Regions from separate parts of the Homo sapiens genome. Here region 2 is linked to region 1. The links are contacts of gene promoters, found by promoter capture Hi-C in blood cells and fetal thymus (Javierre and others, 2016). All regions are on one chromosome and are shown on one strand. Each heading gives the region's core, a stretch centred on a gene start or on the middle of the fragment in contact. The rest is flanking DNA. Distances are from core to core; before and after follow the strand shown.

Evidence for each region. Contacts are between HindIII fragments. The CHiCAGO score rates a contact against its expected background, and 5 or more counts as called.
Region 2: a fragment that was not itself captured here is called in contact with the fragment with the promoter of TMF1 in region 1 in 1 of 17 cell types (total B cells); the score reaches 5.9 in total B cells.

What each region holds. Positions count from the first base shown.
Region 1 is chr3:69,049,233-69,056,859 of GRCh38, forward strand. It overlaps TMF1 (TATA element modulatory factor 1), which reads right to left and starts at 3,101. Exons shown (of 17, transcript NM_007114.3): 1 at 2,713-3,101. The coding sequence starts at 2,854. It overlaps UBA3 (ubiquitin like modifier activating enzyme 3), which reads right to left. Exons shown (of 18, transcript NM_003968.4): 13 at 7,547-7,583; 14 at 7,380-7,461; 15 at 6,951-7,051; 16 at 6,768-6,831; 17 at 6,619-6,673; 18 at 5,498-6,293. The coding sequence ends at 6,205. RefSeq lists an enhancer at 2,693-3,162. The HindIII fragment of the contact is 2,649 bases long and covers 691-3,339 here.
Region 2 is chr3:72,848,089-72,855,715 of GRCh38, forward strand. It overlaps SHQ1 (SHQ1, H/ACA ribonucleoprotein assembly factor), which reads right to left and starts at 357. Exons shown (of 11, transcript NM_018130.3): 1 at 110-357. The coding sequence starts at 252. RefSeq lists an enhancer at 576-675. The HindIII fragment of the contact is 192 bases long and covers 3,088-3,279 here.

The sequences.
Region 1 (7,627 bases), core at 1,851-4,350:
GCCTGGTGGCCCACATATGTGGTCCCAGCTACTCAGGAGGCTGAGGTGGGAAGATCATCTGAGCCCAGGAGGTGGAAGCTGCAGTGAGCCATGATCAAACCACTGCACTTCAGCCTGGGTGACAGATCGAGAACCTGTCTCGAAAACAAACAAAACAACAAAAGCCTCAAACCAAGATAATGGTGACAAATGTTCTTTCCCGAAGATCATATTAAACTGATGGGAATGGTAAGTTCTAGAGAACAAATTCATTTTCATCCACTTAATCACAGGCTGATTCTCTAAATCCCACTCTCCAAGCCCACTCTAAGAGGAAGTTTTGTTCTCAAATTCTAAATTATGTCAGAAATTACAAGGTCATTATAAATTTCAGAAATGTGTGTTTTTTTAAGAACTATTGCTCTTTGACATAGAGGTGGTTGACACTAGGGTTTTTAAAAAAGCGCTACAAAGAAAATGACTGTTTTCTTGGGGAAAAAGTTAATTATCATATCAGTCATACAAATAGCTACTACTAAAATCCTGATTTTTAAAAATGGCATAATCAGGATCTTAAAAATGGTATATTCGTTAAAGTATTTAAAGCATTTCTTTAAAAATGTTTTCTTTTTCAAATTAAAATGTGGCTGAACAAAATATTCACAAAATATTCACAATTAGAAGTTGGTGGAGAGAGCACAAGTAACTAAAAGCTTCTAAAAACTATCAAGCCTTATAGTAGAATCTATCCTTTAATATGACTTCAGGCCAGGCGCAGTGGCTCACGCTTGTAATCTCAGCACTTTGGGAGGCCGAGGCGGGCGGACCACCTGAGGTCAGGAGTTCAAGACCAGCCTGGCCAACATGGTAAAACCCTGTCTCTACTAAAATTACAAAAATTAGGCAGGTGTGGTGACGCAAACCTGCAATCCCAGCTACTCGGGAGGTTGAGGCACGAGAATCACTTGAGCTCAGGAGACAGAATCTGCAGTGAACAGAGATGGCACCACTGCACTCCAGCCTGGATGACAGAGTGAGACTGTGTCTCAAAAAAAAAAAAAACAAAAAAACAAATATATATATATGTAAATATATGTATGACTTCAAAGGCAGTTAGGATGAAAAGTATGTAGAAAACTTCAGTTTGGAGGCATAGTTCTACACATTCATTTGCACAATATCCAAACCAGAGAAAATCAAAATTAAATATGCAAATGAACAACCAAGATTATGTCTGATTAATTTAAATACATTCAAAAGATGACAGGAATTAATTTTGCCTCTTGGAGAATACTTTATATAATCCCAGGGTTATTTGGTATCCATCTAAATTATACCATTCTGAAGACTATGGGCATTTTCCGAAAACAAATATCCTTATATGTAAAACCTATATTCTATCTTATCTAAAGTTTAGTAATTCTAATTAACTGGGGCACATATGAAAAAACAGAGTTACTCCAGCAAGGTTATATGACATCTTGTAAAAAGTAAAGAGGATCATCACATACACACATGGACCAAAATATCTTAAACTGAGGTACCTCAAATTTAGGTCCTGACTTTTCAATGATGTAAAATTAAGAACAGAAACCAGAAAGGAGTAGTCAAGTACATCTCTTATCCTTTTTCACACAAAGGTTCACATCCCCCAACACCAGCAAATCTTTACCCCACACATCAAATGCTGAACTGTTCCTTAGACTTAAGAGTCAAAAGCAACTGAATGAAGATCCCTGAAAGATTAAGCTCAATGAAACTGCAAAGAGAGACTTGGCTATTCAGAAATAAAATGTGATACCATCCAGAAATCTTGGGTCACACATTTTCCGGCTAATACCTCCGGCACATTCTAATCCTCCTCCGCCGTGTGACCTAGAGCAAGTTACTTGGCCATTCTGGGCCTCATTTTCCTCTTATGTAAAACACGGATATAAACCAAGCTCTCTCTGGGAGTTGTTCTGAAGATGAGAAGGCCATAAAAAAGCACATTACAGGCTCGTGCCTGTAATCCCAGCACTTTAGGAGGCCGAGGTGGGTGGATCGCCTTAAGTCAGGAGTTCCACCAGCCTGGCCAACATAGTGAAACCCCGTCCCTACTAAAAATACAAAAAGTTGCCGGGCGTGGTGGTGGGCGCCTGTAATCCCAGCTACTAGGGAGGCTGGGGAAGGAGAATCGCTAGAACCTGGGAGGCGGAGGTTGCAGTGAGCCGAGATCGCGCCACTGCACTCCAGCCTGGGCGACGGAGTGAGACTCCGTCTCAACAACAACATAAAACCACATTACGCGCTACCAAGCGCGAAATGTTCACTGACTGTTAGCGATTGTTCTTCCCTTCCCTGATGATTTACGTACTTCAGACCTTGGATCCCAACAGTGCCCGAGACGCGAAGCAATTCGAGGTTCAGGTTCGGGAAGGTTGTGCTTGGAAGCTGCGTCGAGGGAGAGCTTGAGGGCAAGACCAACCAACCAAGTCCCCTGTCATCCAAGTCCACAAGCCTCGCACCCAGGACCAAAGAAAGACAAGGGGGAACCTGGATCTGGGTTTTCCCTCAGGAAAACAGCAAAGACCGACTTGGAGGCTGAAGCAGCATTAGGGAACGGGCCGGGGAGAAATTACTTCCTGAAAACTCTCTCAGCAAGGAAGGACCCCTCTCTACACCACTTAACCTGCCTGCATCAAGAGAACAGCAGCCTCCGGGAGCCAGGAACCCCGCTCCTCTCTCTCTTACCCGGCTCTCCATACGGAATGGTCTCGGCCCAGATGCTCGGCTCCTCTTCCTGGATGTCCAGAACCCTGTCAATAGACTTCTGGGCCTGGGACAGGGCCTGCTTAGCGAAGCTGGAGAGCTGGGAGGCGTTGAACCAACTCATCGCCCCTCCTCAGCCGGCAGTGGCGGCGGCAGCACCAAGCGGGAAGGCCTCAGGCCTGGGGAAGGGTGCAGAGGAACGGCTTCGCTCCCCTTTTCCACTCGGCTGGTTCTGTCAGCGTGTGGCCATTACCCCGACAGCCTCCCGCGAGCCCGGGATGTTACCCTCGGCCGTTCCCGCACAGCTGAGACGAAGGGGGCCCATGTGCGCATGCGCTTGCTTCTTCCACGTACACAGCAACCAAATCTACGAGCCCAGAGTTCGGTCGACAGACGGAAGAACAGAAGAACGTTGACGTCACATCCGGGAGCGCAGGGTTGCCGTTAGTTACCGAGGAACGCGGAAGGGTTTCTATTGATGTCGATTTCGTGCTTACAGCAGTTCTTAGCGAAGGGGAAGCTATGGCTACCGATAGAGGTCGATTTCCCCGGAAGGAATATTCAAGTTTTCGTGTGTGTGCTTTCCAGGAAAATAGTTCACGTGCTAAAAGCTTGCACCTTGCCAGCAATAATTGCAAAGGGAAATTGGGCCTCACACTTCTCTTAGCCCTTTGTCTCAAATATTTAATAAGCTCTGTATTAACTTGGTATTGTAAGGAGAAACACTTGTTTGGGCTTGCCTAAAAGACAGGATCACGTATGAACACTGTGTCCAACTCGTGGAACACATGGTGCATAAAGCACAACCTCTCTCTCAAAATAGTAGTAAACTCATTGCTGCAGTCAAAATACCCCTAATACTGTGGTCTGTCGGTGTCCCCTGCACAAATTCCTATGTTGAAACCTAATCTCCAATGGGACAGTATTAAGGGGAGCCTTTAGGAGATGATTAGATGATGATGGAGCCCTCATAAATGGGGTTAGTGCCCTTATAAGAGAGGCCCAAGGGAGCTCACGGCAAGAAGGCACCAACTCTAAGCCAGAATAGCAGCCCTCACCAGACACCAAATCTGCCGGCTCCTTATCTTGGACTTCTCAGCCTCTAGAACTGTTAAGAAACAAATTGCTACTGCTTATAAGCCACCCAGTTTATGGCAATTTGTTACAGCAGTCCAAATGGACTAAGACACCTAGGAAGCACTAAAGCTGTTATCCTAACAATGTGCACTGTGCATATTACTTAAAACATAACCTTTTCTGTGTGCATTCTCTTCGAACATTTGGACATGGGAAAATACCTTAAATTGGTGGCCTTCCTAATCCAGTCTGCAGCTATATTTGGTTTGGGCCCAAGTTAAAGACAAAATCCTAACTAAAAGCCAGATTTCATTCAAAAATCTAGATTTCCAGCTGCTTTTGAAAAATATGAATACCAAGCATGGGAATAGTCAGCCAGAGTGGTCACCAAATAATTTTCACTCACTCCAGTTTGCCACAGACCCCTATCACTCATCCTATTACACCCTCCCTGCTGTGATTATTTACCTTATATGCCTGCCTCCCATATTTGAATATTTTACCCCACTGCAAGGAACTCTGCAAAAAAGAATTATTTTTCTTTTAAAAAATCAGATTGAACCCCTTAAGAAGTTATAATCATCTTCCAATAATTTTATCTAACTACAGTAAAAACTTGCATGTTAAAACTAACAATTTAGTCATGTACACAAGTAGTACCAAGTAACTCAAGTACTTTCAAACAGCTAAGTAGTCTGCAGAGGAGATTTGGGGCAGATTCGGGTTGAAATTAGCTGTACAGTTACAGTTCCAAGACTTCTAATTGTACAGCTTTGGTGAAATGACCTACCTAAACCATCTAAAACTATTTATTCAGCTCTCAGATAGAGTCACCTTCTTACAATGCTACTTTGAGAATTATTATAGCACCTATATGGTGCTAAATTTTAGTTCCTTCACTTTCAAAATTGTAAGCTACACCTGTAACTTTTCAGGTAGAGCTTATAAATTTATTCCGTATGGTTTTATAATAAAACTTATTTGTCAATATGTAGCTAGAAAGATTACTGAAAACTTAACTCAGTGACACATAAGTAACCAAAAAACATTTGAACAGAAAACTGCCATATCTAAGTCAAAAACAAAGAATGAGAACACATACATGTTCTCATATTAAAATACTAGCACCTACTTTTTTAGTATTTGTACTTAATTTTGTTTGAAGTTTTATTCACTTAAAAGAAACAAAAACATGGTCAGGCATGGTGGCTCATGCCTGTAATCCCAGCACTTTGGGAAGCCGAGGGGGGCGGGGGGGGGTGGATCACCTGAGGTCAGGAGTTTGAGACCAGCCTGGCCAACGTGGTGAAACCCCGTCCCTACTAAAAATACAAAAAATTAGCCGTGCATGGTGGCAGGCGCCTGTAATCCCAGTTACTCCGGAGGCTGAGGCAGGAGAATTGCCTGAACCGGGGAGGCAGAGGTTGCAGTGAGCTGAGGTTGCATCATCGCACTCCAGCCTGGGCAACAAGAGCGAAACTCTGTCGCAAAAAAAAAAAAAAAAAAAATTATATTGATACAGAAAGTTAAATTAAACCAGTAAATTTTTACTATAGAAATTGCTGTAGCAAAAGTATTAAGTGCAATAAAAATTTGATATAACTCTGCTACACATTTAAAAATTATTCCTATATTACCATGGAACTACTGATTACCCTTAATGTACTTTTAAAAACTTCAGTGAAAGAAGTACACAATATATGATTTTATTAATAAATAGTGCAAAAGCATCAGTGATAACTGTTTGAACATTAAATTTTTTAAACAGCCATGTCTTGGCATTAGTTAATATTGTGCATATTGGCCTCTATGGCACTACAAGTAAACAGATGAAAATATTGCCCATTTTCATGCACAGGTATTCAGCTATAACACCATTTACAAATCATTATGAACAAGATAAATTCTGCAATAATATTCATTTGGATGGCCACAATTAAATGAGTGTTATATCAAGAAATAGCCTATGTTCAATATACTCCAGATGTCAGATTGTAAAATGTAATGTTATTTAAAACTTAATTCTTTATTTTCCTTAAAGGGACACCTTTTGTGTATTTGGGTACTCAAATGAAAACTTAGGAATGCATTCTTTGACCATAATAACAAAATTCACACAAAAGAGGTTGTATGCTTCCTCCTCTAAAAGAAGCAATACATTTGCTCATAATCTCTCTCTCCAGGTATCATTTCTCATATTATTAATGAAAATGCTTACAAGCACCAACACCAAAATTCTGTCTTCAAGGGAAGGTTACAAAGTTAAAAAAGAGTGGTTCATTATATAAAAAAAGACAAATCGTGGCAACACTATTGCTAAAAATGACATCGATTCAACTTCTTAGCATCCACAAAGTATATTATTTCCATGAGTTTTCTATTATGTGGAGATTTTCCTTAAGAAGTAAAATGAAGTTTGAATAGTACAGTCTGTGGGGTGGTGACATCAGCAACCGCCAGTTCTTGTCCATCAACAAGCCCCAATTCTAAAACAGAAAAAATATTATTAATACAAGCAAAAAAAACTCAACAGAAAGGATAATACACATGTAAACAAACTACAGAGTATTACGGTCTAGAAAAACATCAAAATCCAATCCTCTTTAATCAAAGTAATATTTGATTTCTTAGAGATTTTAAAATATTCTACTAAAAGAGCAATTAATTCTATTAATATGTCTAAAGTTGTAAGTAATTATTACCTGACCATATACAAGGCATTAAGAGGAAATCTAGAACAAGCACTGATTACTTTCACCAAAAAGAGAGAAAAGAAAGAAAATGATTAGTAAATACCCTTATGTAAAATACCTTTCAATGTTTTGGAGAGATTTGGCCTTGTTCGTTCTTCAATAGAGGTTACCGACTAGAAAACAAAATTACTTTAATGTAAGACACATTAAAGTAAAATAAAACTTGATATAATTTTCTGAAAAAAATTTAAAATACACATTGATAACCTGTAAGTAAAGTGTTCTATTTTTTCCCTCTAGGGTGGCTGTGATGGCTGGAGATTTCATTTGCCTAAAGATTATGATGAGAGAGAAGTATCAAACATAATTTTTATCAAAAGATAATTTTTTTAAGGTTTCAAAAATCACAAAAATGATTTTTACAACATAACAAAAATCTACAATACTTACAGAGAAGCACTATTGGTTAGATAATCCAAAACCTCCTGTAGTTTAGCTGATGGAGAAAACTGAATATTTTGAGGAAGCTGGCTACAAGCTGGGCAGTTTTCCTACACACATAATACACAACAAATTACAGCAGCACATGCACCAATATTAGTCTCTTTTATGAACAATAAAATAAAAATCAGGTTGTTTTATAATCATGCATATTTCCTATAAAAAAATTTTTATGCTTTAAAGCCTGCTTTTCATAATAGACCATTTCTTGTAAATTACTTCGCTATAGAGTTATTTCAGGCTATAAAGCAAAAGATATATAATAAGTAGAGTTCTGGAAGTTAGAAAATGTATGGGTGACTTTGTTCAAATTTCTAACCAATAATATTTAAAAATCAAAATATGCATGATCAAAAATGTGTTCTTAATACTACTAACCTTTCTTTCTGCTTCAAATGTGTATGTATACAGCCCATCTACATCATTAAACACCAAGTAATTATTCAAGGGAATGTATGCACTGTAATGAAAAAATGTTCATCTTTATATAATTAAACCAAGTCAAAACATAAATTTACATGCATATTAAAAATGAAACCTATTACCTTGTGGCTATTTTAAAAACCTCAGTGGCACACACAGCTGAAGGGAGGAGAAAATACAGGTGCTTTAACTCAATGGAAATT
Region 2 (7,627 bases), core at 1,934-4,433, 3.8 Mb after region 1:
GGAAAAGGCATTCGCGCAATCGAGCACTGCTCTCTCGACCTTGCATTCTCCCTCTAAAGCAGCTATCTAACGAATGCGCCTTTCCTGCGGCCAGGCACCCCGAACTCGCCTGAGAAAGTATGGCTTGGCGTAGAACTTGAAGTCAGACCCCTCGAAGTAGACGTCGAACTCGGAGACCCGGGCGTAGGGCACGCGGATGGCGATAGTCAGGAAGTCCGGATCCTGGCTGAGGTCGAACGCCGGGGTCAGCATCGCCGCACCGGACGCAAGGGCCGGCGCCGCTCGCTCTCACTGCCGCCGCGTTCCCGCCACGCAAACTCTCCAACTCCCCACGCGCAGGAACTCTCGGTGTGAGGGACGGAGCTTCCGGCTCGAGGCGGAAGTGCTCGCGCGTAAGGCAGGAAGTCTCTCCCCACGCCAATCTCCATGGAGACGGGACGCCGTTCGAGAAGAGGCGGAACTTTCAAAACCCCCGGGCGGAGAAAGGGCGTGGCGAGTGGTGCCTGGGAGCCGGCGTTGAACCGGCGGGATGACTAGCAACCGAGCCTTTTTCGAGGTTCTTAGAGATGATTTTAACAGCACTGGCTTGACAGGTAAACAGACGTGCGTTTGAATCCCTTCCTGGCCACAACTTCTCAGCTGTAAGACCTTGGGAAAGTTACAAAACCTCTCTATATCTTCTGTAAAACGCGGATAATGCGAGAACCTAGCCCCATAGAAATGCTGTGAGGGTAGCATGAAATTGTGCATGTAGAACTCTAATAACGAACTTGGCAAGTTGTCAACGCTTGATGTGCTGAAGTAGTCACCGCAGTAGCCACAGCAGCACCGTTACAGTGGTTTCCCTTAGTTCTCACCTGCCTTGTGAACAATTCCTCTTACACTTTCCCTTTCCTCCCTCTCTCTTTCCACTTCTCTTTTTCTGCAGCTTTCTCTCTCATTCTTAACGGCTTATTTGAAGAGTTTTCTCTTTAACAGAGCGTCCGTCCCGCTAATCTCATCTAATCTACGCTGCAAACTCTAAAGAAAACGGCTCAGAGAGGTTAATCAGTACGTTTTATAACCATGCATTTTACAGTAATTAGAACTCAGAACGTTTGACTCTTAAACCGTGTCGGTGACTGCATTCACAAATTAAGGTCCCTCTGTATTCCCCTTCTTTCCTTTTTCTCACTCTTGTCCTTACACTTGTCTGAGGACATCTTTTCTGTCTTTTTTTCTACTTGTCTTCCTTGTATTTTCTCCCTTTGGAGTGTGCCCCTTACACTCTCTCAGTGCCTCTCCCGCTGGTTTCCCTCTTCCCCCACATATTCCCTTGGCCTTTCCACACATGTTGTTTCCTGTTATTCCACCACTAATTAGAATAATCCAGTTGTGGTATTTATTCCGTGGTTTTAAGTATCAGTGGAAAAGGGATGAAAAGTACTCTCCTAGGACAGTGGAGATAACCAGAAAACTTCAAAAGTCTTTTCAATCTCCAGCTGTTTTATGATTCTAAGGAGACATTCTTGAAACTTCATTAGGACTCAGAAAAAAAATTAATAGTAACAGGGGCTAACATTAACTGAATATTTACTATGTGCCAGCACTGCAGCAAACCCTTTGTAATGATCTCATTCTCCCTCCTGACCGCTCTATGAAGTAGGCATTATATATTCCCTTGGCTTGCACAGGATCTCACAGCTAGTAAGTGGTGCAATGGGAATTGAAACCCAGGTGAGTCTGATTCCTAGGCCCAGGCTCTACACTATTACAGAGTTGACTCCCTCTGTTATTACCACCTACTTTGTTTCACATTCTAAAGCCAAGCCTGCCTGCTTTAGACCATACTGAGCCTTACAAGTAATAGGCACTCAATATTGACAATGAATTGATGCCAACTTTGATTTAATAAAGCTCTCAAAAGGTCCCTTGAGATAGGCCTGTGACTAAACTATTCCAAATTAGCTTCTTTACAAAGAATCTTGGCCGGGAGCGGTGGCTCACACCTGTAATCCCACCACTTTGGGAGGCCGAGGGGGTGGATCACCTGAGGTCAGGAGTTCGAGACTAGCCTGGCCAAGATGGTGAAACTCCGTCTCTACTAAAAATACAAAAATTAGCCAGGCATGGTGGTGTGTGCCTATAATCCCAGCTACTCAGGAGGCTGAGGCAGGAGAATCCCTTGAACCCAGGAGGCGGAAGTTGCAGTAAGCCGAGATTGTGCCATTTCACTCCAGCCTGGGTGACAAGAGTGAAACTCCATCTCAAAAAAAAAAAAAAGAAATAATCTTTACATCTGCCATGGGACCTCATTCCTGTAGGTCACAAGCATTAATATTTTTAAATTATTAATGCCAGAGAATCAACTGAAACAAGCTATGCTATCCATGAGGAAATTCTAATTGAAAGCACTTTGCAAACTAGAGCTGTGCATTTCCTGGGTACTTTATTATGTGTCTGGCAACACACACACACACAGGACTGCAACACAGGAAAACAGACAACATGGTTCAGTGCTGCCGTCATTATAAGAAATATATACTGCATCTGCTAAATCACAAAATACGGATAGTTTCAAGTATATAACAAGGTTTTGTTGTTTTGGGTTTCTGTTGGTTTTTGTTTTCTTGCAGGCAATAGTTCTCTTATTTTTGCATTTCTATTAGTGGTAAATATAAGTTATAGATTCATTCTCACTTAAGAACATAAAGTTCCTTTTGGCTGCCATGCAACTTTGGTTCTTTCTCCTGCTTCCTCAAAGGCAGTCCTAGCTATCACTTCAGACCCTTTTCTATTTCTACATCCATTTCTATGGACCCTGTTGCTTTGTGTTTAGACCCACTTTATATGGGCACATTCTCACACTATGAAAGTAATTCTGCAACATGCTTTTTTTCCTACTTTGGTTCATTTTTGAGACATAGCTATATTGATTCATAGATCAAATTGAGTTTCTATTTCTGAATACAGACATTGCTTGAGAATAAAGACATTATTTTAATGTTTTAAATTAGCTCTGGTTTAGAGGGGAAAACAGGAATGCAATTTTTCATCATTTTTGAGCATTCAAATGTTGCAGTGTTTTTTATCTTTTCATTTTCTGAAAGCTTACTTTTGAATGGCCTTCCACTGTTTTAAAAATAGTTTTTCCTTCTGGCCTATAGAGAACATGAAATAAAATAATAAGATAAAGTTTTTTCCATGACCAACTTATGTAGGACAAGTGTGTAACCTATCATCTTTCATTATATTAAATTGGCCCCTCCTCTGGTCTAACAACCCTGATTGTGATCCATAAGCTTCCAAATTAAATGTTAAATTAAAAATGGTTTTTATAAACAATTCCAATGTCAGCTTTATTACCAAGTTCTATTGTTAGAAGTCTTTTAATGGTGAAATACTCCTTGTTTCCAGAAGGTGGCATGCATATAGGTGATTAAAACAATGTTATCTCAAAGAATGGAGCTTTAACCTATGTTGAAAAATAGCTTCCTGAATAAGTTGTTTATAGCGCTAGTTCATTCTCTGAGCCATTTTGGGGAGGTGGTGGAATCTTACACAGTATTTGCAAACTACGTCTTAACCACTGTTATTATTTTGGCATACATCTTTTCAGACTCCTATTCATAAAAGTATGGGAAGTATTTTCAACAAAAGAATGTCATAATCTATATTTGCTTTCTTCACTTAATATAGGATTACAGGCTGGGCACGGTCGCCCATGCCTGTAATCCCAGCACTTTGGGAGGCCTAGGCGGGTGGATCACTTGAGGTCAAGAATTTGAGACTGCTGTGGCCAACATGGGAAAACTTTGTTTCTACTAAAAATACAAAAAAATTAGCCAGGTGTGGTGGCACCACCTGTAATCCCAGCTACTCGGAAGGCTGTGAGGCAAAAGAATCCTTTGAACCTGGGAGGTGGAGGTTGCAGTGAGCTGAGATTGCACCATTGCACTCCAGCCTGGGTGACAGAGCAAGACTCCATATCTCTCTCTCTCTCTCTCTCTCTCTCTCTCTCTCTCTCTCTCTCTCTCTCTATATATATATATATATATATATATATATATATATATATAATATATAAAATACATATGTGGCATTACAATATTTCCATTTGACTACATTTTTGTCAAGAATAAGTTTATCCACAATTGTACTCTTTGTTTTTTTGTTGTTTTTTTTTTCAGAGACAGGGTCTTGTGCTGTTTCCCAGGTTGGAGTGCAGTGGCAGGATCATAGCTCACTGCAGCCTCAACCTCCTAGGCTCAAGCAATCCTCCCACCTCAGCCTCCCAAATAGCTAGGACTACAGGTATGTTTCACCACACGCAGCTAACTTTTTTTTTTTTTTTAGTAGAGACGGGGTCTTGCTATGTTGTGAAGGCTGGTCTCAAACTCCTGGCCTCAAGCACTCTTCCCACTTCAGCCTCCCAAAGCACTGGAATTATAAGAGTGAGCCACCACTCCTGGCCTAGTGTTAGAACTCTTAAAAACAGAATTGAACACAGTGATGATTCATTTTAAGAAAGGAAAAAAAAAACTAATACTAGGATCATGAAACTAGAGTAAAAATACCTAATGCTAGATGACGAGTTAGTGGGTGCAGCGCACCAGCATGGCACATGTATACATATGTAACTAACCTGCACAATATGCACATGTACCCTAAAACTTAAAGTATAATTTAAAAAAAATTAAAAAAATACAAAAGTTAGAGTACAAACTGGATAACACATTTTGAAGTTTGAAAAAAATCCTTTTGTATAACAGTGGTAATACAATGGCACTCATGAGTTTTTTATTTAAATTTATTTTATTTTAGGTTCGGGGGTTCATGTGCAATTCTGTTACATGGATATATTGCATAATGGTGGGGTTGTCCTTCTAGTTAGCCATCACCCAAATAGTGAACACAGTACCCATTAGGTAATTTTTCAGCCCTTACCCCTCTCACTCTCCCCCCTTTGGAGTCCCCAGTGTCTACTATTTCCATCTTCATGTTCATGTGTACCCATTGTTTAGGCTCCTACTTATAAATGAGAACTTATAGTATTTGATTTTCTATTTCTGAGTTATTTCACTTAAGATAATGGCCTCCAGCTCCATCCATATTGCTGCAAAGGACTTGATTTCATTCTTGTTTATGGCTGCATAGTATTTCATGGTGTAATTATACCACATTTTTTATTTTATTTATTTGGGACAGAGTCTCGCTCTGTCGCCCAGGCTGGAGTGCAGTGGCGCCGTCTCGGCTCACCGCAACCTTTGCCTCTCGGGTTCAAGCAATTCTCCTGCCTCAGCCTCCCGAGTGGCTGGGACTACAGGCGTGTGCCACCACACCCAGCTAATTTTTTGTATTTTTAGTAGAGACGGGTTTCATCATGCTGGCCAGGCTGATTTTGAACTCCTGACCTCAAGTGATCCACCCACGTTGGCCTCCCAAAGTGCTGGGATTATAGGCGTTAGCCACTGCACCCAGCCACCACATTTTCCTTATCCAGTCAACCACTGATGGACACTTAGGTTGATTTCATGACTGCTATCATGAATAGTGCAGCAATACATATATGAGTACAGGTTTCTTTTTTTTTTTTTTTTATGAGATGGAATCTTGCTCTGTTGCCCAGGCTGGAGTACAATGGTGCGATCTTGGTTCACTGAAACCTCTGCCTCCCGGGTTCAAGTGATTCTTCTGCCTCAGCCTCCCGAGTAGCTGGGACTACAGGTGCGCACCTGGCTAAATTTTTTTGTATTTTAGTAGAGATAGGATTTCACCATGTTGCCCAGGCTGGTCTCGAACTCCTGAGCTCAGGCAGTCCGCCCACCTCAGCCTCCCAAAGTACTAGGATTACAGGCATGAGCCACTGCACTCAGCCAAGTGTCTTTTTGTAATACAATGATTTATTTTCCTTTGGGTAGATACCCAGTAGTGGGATTGCAAGTTCAAATTATATTTCTATTTTTATTTATTTGAGAAATCTCCATACCGTTTTCTGTAGAGGTTGTACTAATTTCCATCCCCACCAACAGTGCATAAGCATTCTCTTCTCTCCACATCCATGCCAACATCTGTTGTTGTTTGACTTTCTAATAATGGCCATTCTGACTGGTGTTAAGATAATGTCTTATTGTTGTTTTAATTTACATTTCTCTAATTAGTGATGTTGAACATTTTTTCATGTTTATTGGCTACTTGTATGTCTTCTTTGGAGAAATGTCTGTTCGTGTCCTTTGCCCACTTTTTACTGGGTTTTTTCCCCCTTGTTGAGTTGTTTGAGTTCCTTGTAAATTCTGGATATTAGTCTTTTGTTGGAGGCATAATTTGCAAATATTTCCTGCCATTGATACCCTGAGTTTTGCAATTCCAAGCTATAAACTGCTTCTAAGAGGACACAGATAAATTCGTGGGTAACTGACAGATAAATACAGGACTGTAAAAGAGGTTTAAGGGATGGTCCCAACAGGATGTAGACTAAGAAGACCATGAGTCTGACACTGGTGACCTCCAGTGGTTTTCAAACCCCTCTGGATTTAAGTGCAGCTATTTTTGTTCTTTTCCCCAATCCTTTAGCCCATTCACATTACAGTTGTTAGAGTTAAACTTGCTAAGGAGCACAGTGTTAGCACTAATGTAGCATAGTAATGAGTATTTCAGGGAGGATTCAGCCCAATTCCAATTTTGCACAAGTTCGATAAAGCTCCAAAGAAAATCCAAAATGGCTACAGCTGACATAAGAGTGTTTTTTGACAAGATTTCTGAGCAATGTACCTAAGGGCTTAGTGATATATATATCAAGATGCTAGTCTTATCCCATTAAATGAAATGCAGGATCACAAAAGAATGCTAACTGAACAGCATTTCAAGCCTCCTTCATTGTTTAACATCATATTTTGAAAAAGCATCTGCAAAAGGTACTATTCTGATGCCCTGCCCAGATTCCCTTTATGGAGCCAGGAAGCTCATCTGTCACTAGCAGTGAATGTAATGGCTTGCCACTGATCCCGCCAAAGAATTGCCTTAGCTCAGGGTTTCTTCACTCCAGTATTTTGTGCAGGATCATTCTTTGTTGCAGAAGGCTGTCCTATGCACTGTAGGATGTTTAGCAGCATCCTTATCGTCTAATCTCTCAATACAAGCACGAGTTTTCCTGGTGTAACAATCACAAAACTTCTCCAGACTTTGCCAAATGCCCTTGAGGGGACAAAATTGCCCAGGGCTGAGAACAGCTGCTCTAGATTGATAGAAGAAACCTCCAGGATTTAATTACTACCACGACGACCGCTACCCCCTTGCCCAAGCCTGCAATCATGAAGAGCGATATGGGGTTCAGAAGACCACCTCAAAAGGGAAGGTGACTCTGTGGCATGGCTTATGCTCCAGAGTTTTGTTTTGTTTTTTTTAATGGGATCCAGCCGAGGCTAGATTTTCCCCAAACCCACATCTTTCTTTGGCTGTCTTCCCTTTTCCCATTCCCTTTCACCTCCTCCTTAATAAATTTCTCCAGAGAACCCTTCCTCATAGATCACATGCATCAAAATCTCTCAGGATCTGGCTGGGTACAGTGGCTCACGCCTGTAATCTCAGCACTGTGGGAGGCAGGGGTGGGCAGATCACCAGAGGTCAGGAGTTCAAGACCAGCCTGGCC